3 separate regions of the Homo sapiens genome follow, and regions 1 and 2 are each linked to region 3. Evidence: promoter capture Hi-C in 16 types of primary human blood cells and fetal thymus (Javierre and others, 2016). All regions are on one chromosome and are shown on one strand. The core of a region is centred on a gene start or on the middle of the fragment in contact, and the rest is flanking DNA. Distances in the headings are between cores, read along the strand shown.

What was found. Contacts are between HindIII fragments. The CHiCAGO score rates a contact against its expected background, and 5 or more counts as called.
Region 1: a contact is called between a fragment that was not itself captured here and the fragment with the promoter of KCP in region 3, in 1 of 17 cell types (naive B cells). The highest score is 5.0, in naive B cells.
Region 2: a fragment that was not itself captured here is called in contact with the fragment with the promoter of KCP in region 3 in 1 of 17 cell types (naive B cells); the score reaches 5.4 in naive B cells.

What each region holds. Positions count from the first base shown.
Region 1 is chr7:129,177,083-129,181,909 of GRCh38, forward strand. No RefSeq gene overlaps it. Among named protein-coding and RNA genes, the nearest start is that of SMO, 9.1 kb to the right of the region's middle. The HindIII fragment of the contact is 1,602 bases long and covers 1,906-3,507 here.
Region 2 is chr7:129,209,820-129,213,961 of GRCh38, forward strand. It overlaps SMO (smoothened, frizzled class receptor), which reads left to right. Exons shown (of 12, transcript NM_005631.5): 9 at 544-729; 10 at 1,146-1,294; 11 at 1,817-1,951; 12 at 2,205-3,726. The coding sequence ends at 2,632. Among named protein-coding and RNA genes, the nearest start is that of AHCYL2, 13 kb to the right of the region's middle. The HindIII fragment of the contact is 1,589 bases long and covers 1,965-3,553 here.
Region 3 is chr7:128,907,514-128,912,327 of GRCh38, forward strand. KCP (kielin cysteine rich BMP regulator) reads right to left here and starts at 3,196. Exons shown (of 40, transcript NM_001366122.1): 1 at 3,088-3,196; 2 at 913-1,055. The coding sequence starts at 3,163. The HindIII fragment of the contact is 11,148 bases long and covers 1-4,252 here.

The DNA of each region.
Region 1 (4,827 bases), core at 1,457-3,956, 270 kb after region 3:
TCAACTGTGCCATCATCACAAGACACATTGGTGTTACCCCTTCATAGCCACACCCATTCCTCCCCACCGTCACTAACCTCCGGCAACCACCAATCTGTTCTCCACCCCTATAATTATGTTATTTCATGAATGTTACAGAAATGGAATCATGCAGTAGTTATCCTTTTGAGACTGGCTTTTTTCACTCAGCATAATTTCTTTGAGCGCCATCCGAGTTGTTGCGTGTATCAATAGTTTGTTCTTTTCTATTTCTGAGTATTATTCCATGGTATGGATAAACTACAGTTTGTTTAACCACTCACCCATTAAAGGACATTTGGTTGGTTTCCAGTTTTGAGCTATTACAAATAAAACTGCCACGACCATTTGTGTACAAGTTCCTGCGTGAAAATAAGCCTTCATTTCTCTTGGAGAGATGCCCAGGAATGTGACTGCTGGGTCGTATGGTATATATGTTTTTTCCAGAAACTGACAAATTGTTTTCCAGAGTGGCTCTATCATTTTATGTTCCCCAGCACTATACGAATGACTCAGTTTCTCCGCAGCATTGCCAGCATTTGGTGTTCATCACTACTTTTTTTTTTTTTTTTTTTTAGACACAGTCTCACTCTGTCGCTTAGGCTGGACTGCAGTGGTGTGATCTCGGCTCATTGCAACCTCCGCCTCCTGGGTTCAAGTGATTCTCCTGCCTCAGCCTCCTGAGTAGCTGGGACTGCAGGCATGTGCCACAATGCCCAGCTAATTTTTTGTATTTTCAGTAGAGACGGGGTTTCACCGTGTTAGCCAGGATGGTCTCGATCGATCTCCTGGCCTTGTGATCTGCCCGCCTTGGCCTCCCAAAGTGCTGGGATTACAGGCATGAGCCACCGCACCTGGCCCACAATTTTTTATTTTAGTCATTTTGATCAGCATGTGGTAATATCTCATTATGGTTTAATTTGCATTTCTCTAATGGCTAATGATACTGAACATCTTTTCATGGGTCTATTTGCCACCTATATATTCTCTTTGGTAAAATGCCTGTGCGTGTCTTTTTCCCGTTTTCTAATTGGATTGTTTGTTTTTTTAAGTACTGTTTTCAAGTTCTTTGCGTGTTCTAGATACAAGGCTTTTTTTGGACATGCAATTTACAAATATCTTCTCCCAGTATTTAATTTGTCTTTTTATTCTTTTAACAGTGTCTTTTGCAGAGCAAAAGTTTCAGATTCTGATGAGATACAATTTGTCAATTTTTCCTCTTCCGGTTTTGCTTTTTATTTTTTATTTTACTTTTATTTAACTTCTTTAGAGATAAGGTCTATGTTGCCCAGGCTGGAGTGCAGTGGCTGTTCACAGCTGCAATAATGGAGCACTGCAGCCTTGAACTCCTGAGCTCAAGTAATCCTCCTGCTTCAGCCTTCTGGTAGCTGGGACTACAGGTGTGCATCACTGTGCCTGGCTCTGGGTTGTGCTTTTGGTATCAAGTCTAAGAACTCTTTGCCTGGTATGAGTCCTGAAGATTTTCTATGTGTTTTTTAGAAGTTTTATATTTACATTTAAGTGCATGATTTGTTTTGAGTTAATTTTTGTTTAAGGTGTGTGAGGTTTACATAGAGTTTTATTTTATTTTTATTTTTTTGCATATGGATATGTAATTGCTCTAGCACCATTTATTGAAAAAGTTCTCCTCCACCATTGAACTGCTTTTGCTGCTTTGTCAAAAACTAATTGGCCATATATGTGGGCATATTTCTGGGTTCTCTATTCTGCTACATTGATCTATGTGTCTATCTTTCTACCAGTACCACATTGTCTTGATTGCTGTAACTATATAGTCAGCCTTAATATCAGCCAGCGATTCCTCCCACTTTAATCTTTGTCAAAAATTGAGCAAGGCCTTTCACTTTCCATATTAGTTTTGGAATAAGCTTGTCTATGTCTACAGAGAAACTTGTTTTCTTTCTTTCTCAAAACTTGAGATTTTGATAGGAATTTTGTTAAACCTAGAGGCTTAGGGAATCAACCTAGGGGAAAGTGACATCTTTGCTATGTTTGATCTTTTGATTCATGAACATAGTATGCCTCTCCAAGGATTTAGGTTGCCTTTGATTTCTTTCATCCCCATTTTATAATTTTCATCATATAGATTCTTTATAAATTTTGTTAGATTTGTACTTAAGTATTTCATTTTTTTTTCTTTCTTTCTTTCTTTCTTTCTTTTTTTTTTTTTTTTGAGACAAGTTTCACTCTTTTGCCCAGGCTGGAGTGCAATGGCATGATCTCGGCTCACTGCAACCTCTGCCTCCTGGGTCCAAGTGATTCTCCTACCTCAGCCTCCCCAGTAGCTGGGATTACAGGCACCTGCTATCATGCCCAGCTAATTTTTGTATTTTTGTAGAGATGGGGTTTTACCATGTTAGCCAGGCTGGTCTTGCACTCCTGACCTCAGGTTATCCACCCACCTCGGCCTCCCAAAGTGCTGAGATTACAGGCATGAGCCATTGTGCCCAGTCAAGTATTTCATTTTCTTTGGAGCAGTTTGTTAGGAATGCCTTCTTGAGAAAGGGTATTTGAATGGACCTAAATGAGAACATAAGAATAAGCCTGAGTGCCAAGATCCTGAGGCAAGTGCTTGCTTGGTGTGTGTAAGGACACACAGCAAAAACTGTACCCATTAATCAGTAAAAAGGACAGCATGTTCAAGGTGGTGTGAGCAAATGAGATCCAGGAGGTTGCCAGGGGTTAGCGGGACGTTGGTGAAGTCCTGATGAGAAATTGAAATTTTACTCTAAGTGTGATGAAATGCCATCAGAGTGTTGAACACAAGAACGATATAGTCAGACATATTTTAGAAGGATGACCCTGGCGCCTGAATGCAGAATTGGTTGTAGGAGGGTAAGGGGAAACAGGAAAGCTGTTAGCTCTTGGAGTGGCCCAGAGGACAAGTGACTGTAGCTCAGAAGAGGGTGGCAGTGTGAAGGGGACAAGGAGTAATTGGAGTCTAGATATATTTTGAAGGTGTAGCTGTCAGGATTTGCTGATGACTCGGTGTGAGATGTTAGAGAAAGAGAAGAGGCATATATGGCTCCAAGGATCTTGGCCCGTGCAGCTGGGTGAACAGTGGTGCCATTTACTGAGAAGAGAACTACATTCTTCAGTATGAAAACAGAACTGTCAGCCAGCACAGTGACCTTGCACCTGTAGACCCAGCAATTTTGAAGGTTGAGGTGGTGAGGGGGTATCATTTGAGCCAAAGAGCTTGAGAGCAGACTAGGCAATATATGACCCCATCTGAAAAAAAAAAAAAAAAAGAACTGTCACTACCCAGAAAAGACCTGAAACCTAATATCTCAGTTTGCAGTCACAGACTGGTATGGGATAAGATTACCTTTCCCAAACCAGCCACATTTCTACAATGTTGGCAACTAGTTGGAATTCCAGAAACCACTGAGATGGTACCATAAGATGGATGTTGGAGAAGAAAGAAAAGGTAAGTGAAACCAGTAGTTCTTAAGCACGTAAGAACCAAGCTTTTCCATGTTACTTCGCACTAATCTTCATTAGACTCCTTACAGCTAAGTAAAAATACACTTGTTTTTTCCCTTTTTTCTTTCTTAAAAAATTGTAGTAAAGTATATCTAACATAATATTTATTATTGTTACTATTTTTTGAGGCAGAGTCTTGCTCTGTCTCGGCTCACTGTAACCTCTGCCTCCTGAGTTCAAGTGATTCTTCTGCCTCAGCCTTCCAAGTGGCTGGGACTACAGGCACATGCCACCATGCCTGGCTAATTTTTGTATTTTTAGTAGATATGGGGTTTGACCACATTGGCCAGGCTGGTTTCAAACCTCTGACCTCAGATGATCCACCCACCTTGGCCTCCCAAAGTGCTGGGATTACAGGCATGAGCCACCGTGCCTGGCGTCCATATTTATTATTTTAAGTATTTGTAAATTTACAGTTCAGTGGCATTAAATATATTCATGATGTTGCATAACCATCACCATCTATAGCCAAAACTCTTTCATCATCCTCAACAAAAACTCTGTACCTGTTAAACAATAGACTCCCTTTTACCACTTTCCCCAGCCCCTGGAAACTTCTATTATTTTCTATTTCTATGAATTTGCCTGTTCTGGGCACCTGAAATCAGTGGAATCACACAATATTTGTTCTTTTGTGTCTGGCTTATTTCACTAAACATATTGTTTTCAAGGTCCATCCATGTTATCCATATATCAAAATTTCATTCTTTTTACGGCTTAGTAATATTCCATTATTATAGATATACCACGTTTTGTTTATCCATTCATCCATTGATAGATACTTGGGTTACTCCCACCCTTTAGCTATTGTGAGTAATACTGCTGTGAACATTGATGTACAAATATCTCTTCAAGTCTCCACTTTCAATTCTTTCAGATTACATATACCTAGGGGTGGAATTGCTGGATCACATGTTAGTTTTATGTTTAGCCTTTTGAGAAACCACCAAAATGTCCTCCACAGCAGCTGCTCCATTGTGCATTTCCACCAGTAATGCATGAGGGTTCCAATATATCCACATCTTCACCAATACTTGTTATTTTCTCTGCTTGCTTTAATTATGATCATCCTGGCTGGGCATGGTGGCTCACGCCTGCAATCCCAACACTTTGGAAGACCAAGGTGGGCAGATCACTTGAGGTCAGGAGTTCAAGAGCAGCCTGGCCAACATAGTGAAAACTCCATCTCTACTAAAAAAAAAAAAAAATTAGCCGGGCATGGTGGCGCGCACCTAGAATCCCAGCTACTCAGGAGGCTGAGGTAGGAGAATTGCTTGAACCTGGGAGGCGAAGGGTGCAGTG
Region 2 (4,142 bases), core at 1,509-4,008, 300 kb after region 3:
TCATAATGAGGATGGATTGGAGAGAGTAAGACATTGCTACTGCTGAGAGAAGCGCAGTACCCACTGTTACAAGGACAGTCGCTAAAATGGATGCTAGTCCAAGCCCTGACTGCTTCAGGCTCTTCCGTAAAGGTTCCGGCTTCCAGTCTGGGATGCTTTAAACCACAGTGATGCCTGAGTCTCTGCCCCAGAGATTCAATTTAATTGTCTAGGGTGGGTCCCAGGCATCAGTAGCTATTAAAAGCTCCCCAGTTGATTCTAATGAGCACCCAGGGTTGAGATCAGTGCTGTGGAGCTTAGCCCTTTCTAAAGTTTTTGGATTGATTGTCTGAGTCTACCCAGTAGACTCAGAAAACCCCACCTGTAGTCCCAGCTACTTGGGAGGCTGAAGCAGGAGATTGCCTGAGCCCAGGAGTTGGAAGCTGCAGTGGGTTGTGATCACGCCACCGCACTCTAGCCTGGGTGACAGAGCAAGATCCTATCTCAAAAAAAGAGAGAGGAAAAGAAAGGAAAGCCTCACCTGTCTACGTTCCCTCACTGTAGATGTCAGGCCAATGTGACCATCGGGCTGCCCACCAAGCAGCCCATCCCTGACTGTGAGATCAAGAATCGCCCGAGCCTTCTGGTGGAGAAGATCAACCTGTTTGCCATGTTTGGAACTGGCATCGCCATGAGCACCTGGGTCTGGACCAAGGCCACGCTGCTCATCTGGAGGCGTACCTGGTGCAGGTGGGCATGGCAGCCAGCCCCTCCTGCCCTGCCCGCCTCACCCTCAGCCTTGGGACCCCATCTTTAGGTTTTGTCGGGTCCTGCCTCTAGCACAGCCTTGGTCAGTGGTTCACCGCTGCCCCCTGGTGGCACCTTCTGTCCTTGGGTGGCCTGATGCCTGGGCCTGGGCCTGGGCCAAGGGCAGAGCCAGCTGCCATCACCTTTTAAGAGCGGAGTGATTGGAGGGCTGGGCACACAGGAGCTCTGCATTCTGGCCCCACTTCTTTGCAGAGAAGGCCTCTACTCCTGAGTCCTTGAAGGACTTGAGGCCCTTGGGAGCCTCCTTCTCTGGAAAGAATGGCATCGCTGGCCCTTCCCAAGATTTGATGGGAAGTGGCAGCTTCTTCACGCTCCTTCCCTATCCCTTCTGCTCTCAGGTTGACTGGGCAGAGTGACGATGAGCCAAAGCGGATCAAGAAGAGCAAGATGATTGCCAAGGCCTTCTCTAAGCGGCACGAGCTCCTGCAGAACCCAGGCCAGGAGCTGTCCTTCAGCATGCACACTGTGTCCCACGACGGGCCCGTGGGTGAGCCTCACCCCTCCTCTACCGGAGCCGCCTGGCCCCGCGCTGCCCATGTGCTAGTCTCTCCCAGCCTGCTGGGGGCACACAGATTATTTGGAAGACCGACTGTGAGGAGCAAGGCGCTCCCTCCATCGCTCACACACCCATTCTTCCCCCGGCCCCTCCTACCCTCTGGGGGGCTCTCCCCTCTCTGTTTCTGCCCCTGGGTCTGCTTGCCGGTGCTTGGGTTCCAAGAAGACTCCCCTCCCTCTCCCTTCTCATAAATTCTCCAGTTGCTCTCCCTGGGCAAGAGTAAGTCAGGGTTCCAAGAACTGGATTTCTGGCCTCCAGTTAGGCCCTTTGGGGACGTGAGGCCCTTCTCTTCAGATTCTGAAGGGGTAGAGATCACCGTGGTTACAGGGTGAGCTTTCTCTGGTGAGCAGGAGGGACTGGCTGTGGGAAGATGAATGGCACTGACTATGGGAGGCACTGCCAGGGACCGGGAAGTCACTATTCCTTCTCCTTTCCTTCCTTCCATTCCCACAGCGGGCTTGGCCTTTGACCTCAATGAGCCCTCAGCTGATGTCTCCTCTGCCTGGGCCCAGCATGTCACCAAGATGGTGGCTCGGAGAGGAGCCATACTGCCCCAGGATATTTCTGTCACCCCTGTGGCAACTCCAGGTATGAGAGTTCAAGCTTCTGGAGGAAGGTGGGGGGAGCACAGAGGCTGGGGGCTTCTGGGACTGGAGTACAGGGGCTGTCGGAGGAGGAGGAAGAGGAAGGAAAGGCCCCAGAGGATCTGAAGAGTGGGGCTGAGGCTCTAAGAGTCTAGAGACCTGGGCCCCAGAACTAACAGGTTAAGTGCTCCCAGGGGAGCGGGGGTGGCATGGACAGAGCCAGGGCCCCAGGCTCGTGTTGTCTCTCCTCCTGTCAGTGCCCCCAGAGGAACAAGCCAACCTGTGGCTGGTTGAGGCAGAGATCTCCCCAGAGCTGCAGAAGCGCCTGGGCCGGAAGAAGAAGAGGAGGAAGAGGAAGAAGGAGGTGTGCCCGCTGGCGCCGCCCCCTGAGCTTCACCCCCCTGCCCCTGCCCCCAGTACCATTCCTCGACTGCCTCAGCTGCCCCGGCAGAAATGCCTGGTGGCTGCAGGTGCCTGGGGAGCTGGGGACTCTTGCCGACAGGGAGCGTGGACCCTGGTCTCCAACCCATTCTGCCCAGAGCCCAGTCCCCCTCAGGATCCATTTCTGCCCAGTGCACCGGCCCCCGTGGCATGGGCTCATGGCCGCCGACAGGGCCTGGGGCCTATTCACTCCCGCACCAACCTGATGGACACAGAACTCATGGATGCAGACTCGGACTTCTGAGCCTGCAGAGCAGGACCTGGGACAGGAAAGAGAGGAACCAATACCTTCAAGGCTCTTCTTCCTCACCGAGCATGCTTCCCTAGGATCCCGTCTTCCAGAGAACCTGTGGGCTGACTGCCCTCCGAAGAGAGTTCTGGATGTCTGGCTCAAAGCAGCAGGACTGTGGGAAAGAGCCTAACATCTCCATGGGGAGGCCTCACCCCAGGGACAGGGCCCTGGAGCTCAGGGTCCTTGTTTCTGCCCTGCCAGCTGCAGCCTGGTTGGCAGCATCTGCTCCATCGGGGCAGGGGGTATGCAGAGCTTGTGGTGGGGCAGGAACGGTGGAGGCAGAGGTGACAGTTCCCAGAGTGGGCTTTGGTGGCCAGGGAGGCAGCCTAGCCTATGTCTGGCAGATGAGGGCTGGCTGCCGTTTTCTGGGCTGATGGGTGCCCTTTCCTGGCAGTCTCAGTCCAAAAGTGTTGACTGTGTCATTAGTCCTTTGTCTAAGTAGGGCCAGGGCACCGTATTCCTCTCCCAGGTGTTTGTGGGGCTGGAAGGACCTGCTCCCACAGGGGCCATGTCCTCTCTTAATAGGTGGCACTACCCCAAACCCATCTTTTGTTCTCCTATATCCTCCTTCTTCTGTTCCATTTCAGTTCAGTTTCAGCGGTGCCAACCTCTTTGCGTTTCCTTTTTGTTGATGAGGACCCAGAGCTGCTGCACACACTCACCTCTAACCCCCTCCCCTCGCTGCTGGGCCCCATCTCCACAGGAGAGACTGGTTCAGCTCTAGGGCCTCAGTCTGGAGTGGGATAGGAGCAGTGAGTGACAAAGCCTCTGAAAGATGCATCATCTCTTCCTCACACCCATTTAGTGGGGGATGGGTCCTCTAGACTTGAGGGGCTACCCTGGGAAGCTGCCGTAGCTTCAGCCAGGCAAGAAAGCTTCCTTCAACCTGCATAGCCGGTGGGTGAGGAGATTCCCACCTTCCATAGCCTCCAAACATGTTCCCAAGGCCCCACTTTCAAGAATCAGACAGCAGGAAGCCATAGATGCTGGCTGGGTTCCAGGTTATGGGGAGAAGAAATACAGTCAATAAAAGGTTTTTGTATAAACTCTTGGTGTGTTTTTCCTTTTTTTTTTCTTTTTCTTTCTCTCTCTTTTTTTTTTTTTTAATTGAGATAAAAGTCTCACTCTATCCCCCAGGCTGGAGTGCAGTGACATGATATTGGCTCACTGCAACCTCCGTCTCCTGGGTTCAAGCAATTCTGCCTCAGCCTCCTGAGTAGCTGGGATTACAGGTGCCTGCCACCACACCCAGCTAATTTTTGTATTTTTAGTAAAGAGGGGGTTTCACCATGTTGGCCAGGCTGGTCTCGAACTCCTGACCTCAAGTGATCCACCCGCCTCGGGCTCCAAAGGGCTGGGATTACAGGCGTGAGCCACCGCGCCCAGCTAGTGCGTTCTTTCTTCTATGGGCTCCGATCCTGGCCTCCTTACCTTGTCTTGGTCCCAATCTTTTTGGTCTTCC
Region 3 (4,814 bases), core at 1,946-4,445:
GATGAGGGGTGTGAAAATGAGGCAGGATGAGAAAGAAGTTCGCCAATTCCAGAGCAGAGATGGGTCCCCCTCGGTCAGCATCCAGCTCAAACGATCACCATTCTCAGGGGGGCACGGGCCCCAATCTCTCCTTTGGACAAAATGGGGACCCAACCCTTGCCCCAAGAATTAAAGACATCTTTACCCATCCAAAATATTTTTGATGATGCCTTATATAGAATGCATTCCATAACATTCCCCAAATACATGGAACAGTACGAAACACGAACTGACAAAACAAATAGCCTGGAGGTTCTTCATTTGCATGAAAGAATCAATGTTAAGAATTGTTCTGGCCAGGCCTGGTGGCTCACACCTGTAATCCCAGCACTTGGAGAGGCTGAGGCGGGCAGATCACCTAAGGTCAGGAGTTCGAGACCAGCCTGGCCAACGTGGTGAAATCCTATCTCTACTAAAAATACAAAAATTAGCCGGGTATGGTGGTGCACACTTGTAGTCCCAACTACTCAGGAGGCTGAAGCGTAAGAATCACTTGAACCCAGGAGGCAGAGGTTGCAGGGAGCTGAGATTGTGCCACTGCACTCCAGCCTGGGTGACACATGGTGACTCCATCTCAAAAAAAAAAAAAAGAAAGAGAGAGAGAGAAAGAGAGAAGAAGGATGGAAGGAAGGAAGGAAGGAAAAGAAAGAAAAAAAAAGAAAGGAAGGAGGGAAGGAAAGAAGAAAGGAAGAAAGAAAGAAGAAAGAAAGAAAGAAAGAAAGAAAGAAAGAAAGAAAGAAAGAAAGAAAGAAAGGGAATTGTTCAGATAAGAGCTCTATTTTAGGCTCCCCCCTCCAAGCCTAACTCCTTCTCTCCCTCCCACTATGAGAAGCCCTCCTTACCCAATGCAAACCAGCACTGTCTCCATGGTACCTGTTCTCTGAGCTCCATCACTGCAGCCTCCAGTCGCCCCAGCCACTCTCGCAGGGGGTGCCACTGCTCCTGGGAGTTCCCAGCAAGGACTGAGGAATGGGCAGTTGTCTGCTGCCCAGGGGGCTCCCTGGGGACAGCCCCACCTGAAGGGCACAAGAATCCCATGTGGGCCTGAGGGTGAGGGGCTGGCCTGGCCACATTTTCTGGGTTCTGTCTTCTGACCCACAGGGGAAGGGGGTCATCCTGTGCACCCTGCCCTCTCCAATTGCCCACCCACCATCCAGGGCCGGGAAGCCAGCACAGGCTGAAACGCAGGGGAAGGCCACAGACATGCGCCAGGTGGAGCTGCTTTCAGGGGTCTGGGGTCTGGCTGAGAGTCTTTTCAGGGAGAACATGAGCAGCCCCCATCCCCTGACTCTCTGCACCTGTCAGAAAGGCCACAACTTTTGGAGAATGTGCTCAGGGAAGGACAACTGCTCCCGCCCCCAACCCTGAGCACGGTTTTCCAGGCTTGTGACAGGGGTTCCTGGGGGCTCCCACATTGGGTGGGGTGGGCTTCAAAAGTGGGACTTGGCTGCATTTTCTGAAGGGTGTGAGAAATGTGCTGGCAAGGCCCCTGCTAACTTTGAACACACCAGATCCAGTGAAGACAGCCTGTCCCTGCTTCTAGAAGACACTATGTCCAGGAAAGAGGGACGGGGCACCTCTGAGCTCTGGCCTGGGGTTAGGGGCGGCCACTTTCACCTTTTCACTTTGATCCTTCTCCTGCAGCCCAGAAAGTAAAGGCAGGAGGGGAAGAGGCAGACATAGGTCCCTCCTCCAGGCAGGGATGGGCAGGGAAGTTGAGGGTCTGGAGCGGAGGCAATAGGAACAGAGAGAGGAGGAGGGAGAGGGATGGGTCTTTCCCACCATGGCAGCTCATTAGTGAGGCCAGGCCTGGAGTGGCTTAAAAGGGTTTCTCACAGACACTAGGCCTGTGAGACAGGGGAACAATGTCACCCACTGTCACCATCAAAGGCAGAGGGGATTCTAGGCTAAAATTGAACTTGCTTTGTCCCAAGTTCCCTGGCTTGGTTAATGCCATCACACATACCCAGTTACTTAAGCCAGAAAGCTGGGGCTCAGCTCCCCTATTTTGTTGCCTGAGTTGTCCCCTAATACATCCCCCCCTTCTCCTCTCTCCACCATCTCCATTCAGAAGGCTGAAGACAAAGCGTCCCTGCCTCCATCTGTGCCCCTTCTCTCCACTCGACCTTTCTGAATCACACAGCCGAAGTCTCCCAGGAGCAAGTCCCGCTGGGATGGATCACAAGCACCGCCCACCTTTCCAGCCCCGCTACTTCTGGCTTATATCAGGGATTCTAACTCAGTTCCCGCACCCTGGGCGAATACTGGCCCTCAAACCCCAGGTGCCCTTTCCCATCTCCGTCCCTCTACTGGGGATCCTGTCACCCGGAATGGCACCCGGTCTCAGTCCTTCCCAAGCACACAGAGGGCGGCCACGATGGGCGTCTCAGCATCTGAAACCTTCTACCCAATCTAGACTCCCGTGGGGCCTCATCCTGCTGCCCAGGGCCCCTCCTCCCAGGCCACTCCTCCAGTTCTGCTTAAGTAGGCAGGCAGGATATGGGAGCCCGGGAGAAGCTGAATCCTCTGGGACCCCTAGGTGAAGCTAGGGCCAGCCTCGCCTGGAGAGACCTGCAGAAAGAGCTCCGAGTGGCACAAACTTGGCTGGTCCCCAAGGAATTGTCCCGGGTTCCCCTCTTAGCCTCCCCTGGCCCCGTGCCGGCACCGAGCCCTCCATTCCCGCCTGTCCTGCTCCGGGGAGGGCCAGACACAGATGCAAAGTCAGCTTCCACAGCGGGCCCCTTTTCTCCCCCTCCTTCGTCAAGACAAATAATTAACTTCAGACTCCCAGATGCCAGGGCAGCCGCACTCTCTCCCGCCGCCGGCTGCAGGAACCGCCCCCCTCTCCTGAACCCCCTGCTTTGGCCGTGGTCTTCCCCACCCTGCTCGCTCCCCCGACGGGGAGGACGGAGCTGGCCAGGGAGGCGCGCGAACCTCAGGCAGGGCTAAGAGCAGAGCCCCCAGCCCCTCTCGGCCCCCTCAGGCCGGGCTGATAGGAGGGAGGGGGCGCACCTGGCCGGACCCCAAGCCTCCCGCACCTGGACTCACCTTCCGCGCCCGCGGCCAGCGCCAGGGCCCCGAGGTGCAGGAGAAGGGACAGCGCAGCGGCCCCGACCCCGGCCATGCTAGCTCCGCCTCGCTCGGCTCGCCGTCTGTCGTCGCGGCTCAGCAGGCGCTGGGGAAGGCGGGGTGGGGACACACAGGCCGCTCCCACCCAGGCTTTGTTCAGGGAGGGCTCAAACCCCCCACCGCGCGCGCCTTTCCCATGCACACCTCCACCCGCCCCGGGCCCGGCCGGTCCTGACCCCAGAGAGCAGCTCCAGCTCGCAGGAAGCCCAACGGGGGTGTAGGCCTTGTCTCCGCTTAAGATCCAGGAGGAGACCCTGAAAAGAAAATAAACCCAAGTCCACCCCTCTCGGGATCCTAGAGAGTCTCCCTGCCCTTTTAGGTTACTCCATCGCCCTAGGGTTTCCAGATCGATTTTTCCTCTCTCTCACAAGTTTACAGAAGAAGCAGACTGAGCTGGGTTTAGATCCCTGCTCAGCCAATTCCATGTGGCCTTAGACCACTAACTTCTCTGTGCCTCAATTTCCCTATCTGTAAACTGGGGATCACCACATCTACTTTATAGACTTGCAGTGAGCATTAAGTGAGATTATATAAGTAAAGAATTTAGAGTCGGTAGAGAGATGGTAAATGCTCAGTAAATAACAAATAATAATAATAAGAACTCCTGATCTCTGAAATCATGGACACGACCAGTGTTTTCCTCTCTCCCCTATAAGTTTCTTTCCTGAACTCCACTCAACACCCCTACCCACCCCAGCAGTCCCAGGCTTGGCCCCAAATGCCAAGGCCGCCCTTCACTGGCTGGTCTCAGCCCCATTTCCCACTCCTGAGCTCAGGCCTGGCTGTGGGGTGAGCCTGGGTAGGGGGCAGGGCTGGGCCCTGGGCTCAGCAGGCAGAGGGGGCCAAAGGGAGGAAGTGAGGACAGCCGTCCCTGTGGGCCCACAGGCTGGGAAACTCCTCCTTGAAGCTGGGAAGCAGAGGGTTGGGTCTCACAGGCGAAGCTCACAGGCAAAAAGGAACATTGAGGGCGGAGCTGTGAACCCTTCCAAAGCTCTCCCTCCCTGTCATAAAGACCAGAAGTCGGAAGCCACCCCTCCCCCTAGACCAGGCAGGGACTGAGGTCTCCCCAGCCCACTCTCCACCAAGCTTAAAGCTTCAGTAAGGAGACGGCAGCTTCTCTGCCCCAGAGTCTGGGCCCATAGTGGACCTGAGCCTTTGCCACAGGGGGCAGGGAGGCTGCAATGCCACGCTAAGACCTGGCCTCAGTGCCTGGAGCTGAGGTCACAGAGGAAAGCCAGGGCCAGCCAGCCAGAAGAGGAACAAGGAAGCGGCAGCACTATTCCTGGCAGGTTTAAGGAAGGTGGCTTTCATTGACCGGGTGCCTCTGGAAAGCAAGTCCTCTGAGGGGCTGGGTAGTGGGACGGTTCAGAGCACAGATTCTGGCAGGGTTGCCAGGGCGCATCCTGGAGCTCTTGCTTTCTGCTCTGGGGCCTCTGGCTGGTCACTTCACTTTTGGTGGCTGATTTTTCTGAACTGTGACTGGAGCTCTAACAGCACCCACCTCATGGAGTGTTTGTAAGGATTAGTAATGCATGGTGCTTGGCACAGAGGTATGAGCAATTTTTACTTCCCTTATGAAGAATGGGGGCACCTCCATCCCCATTTTACAGAAAGAATCAGAGAGAATCAGGGTGAGCAGCTCTAAA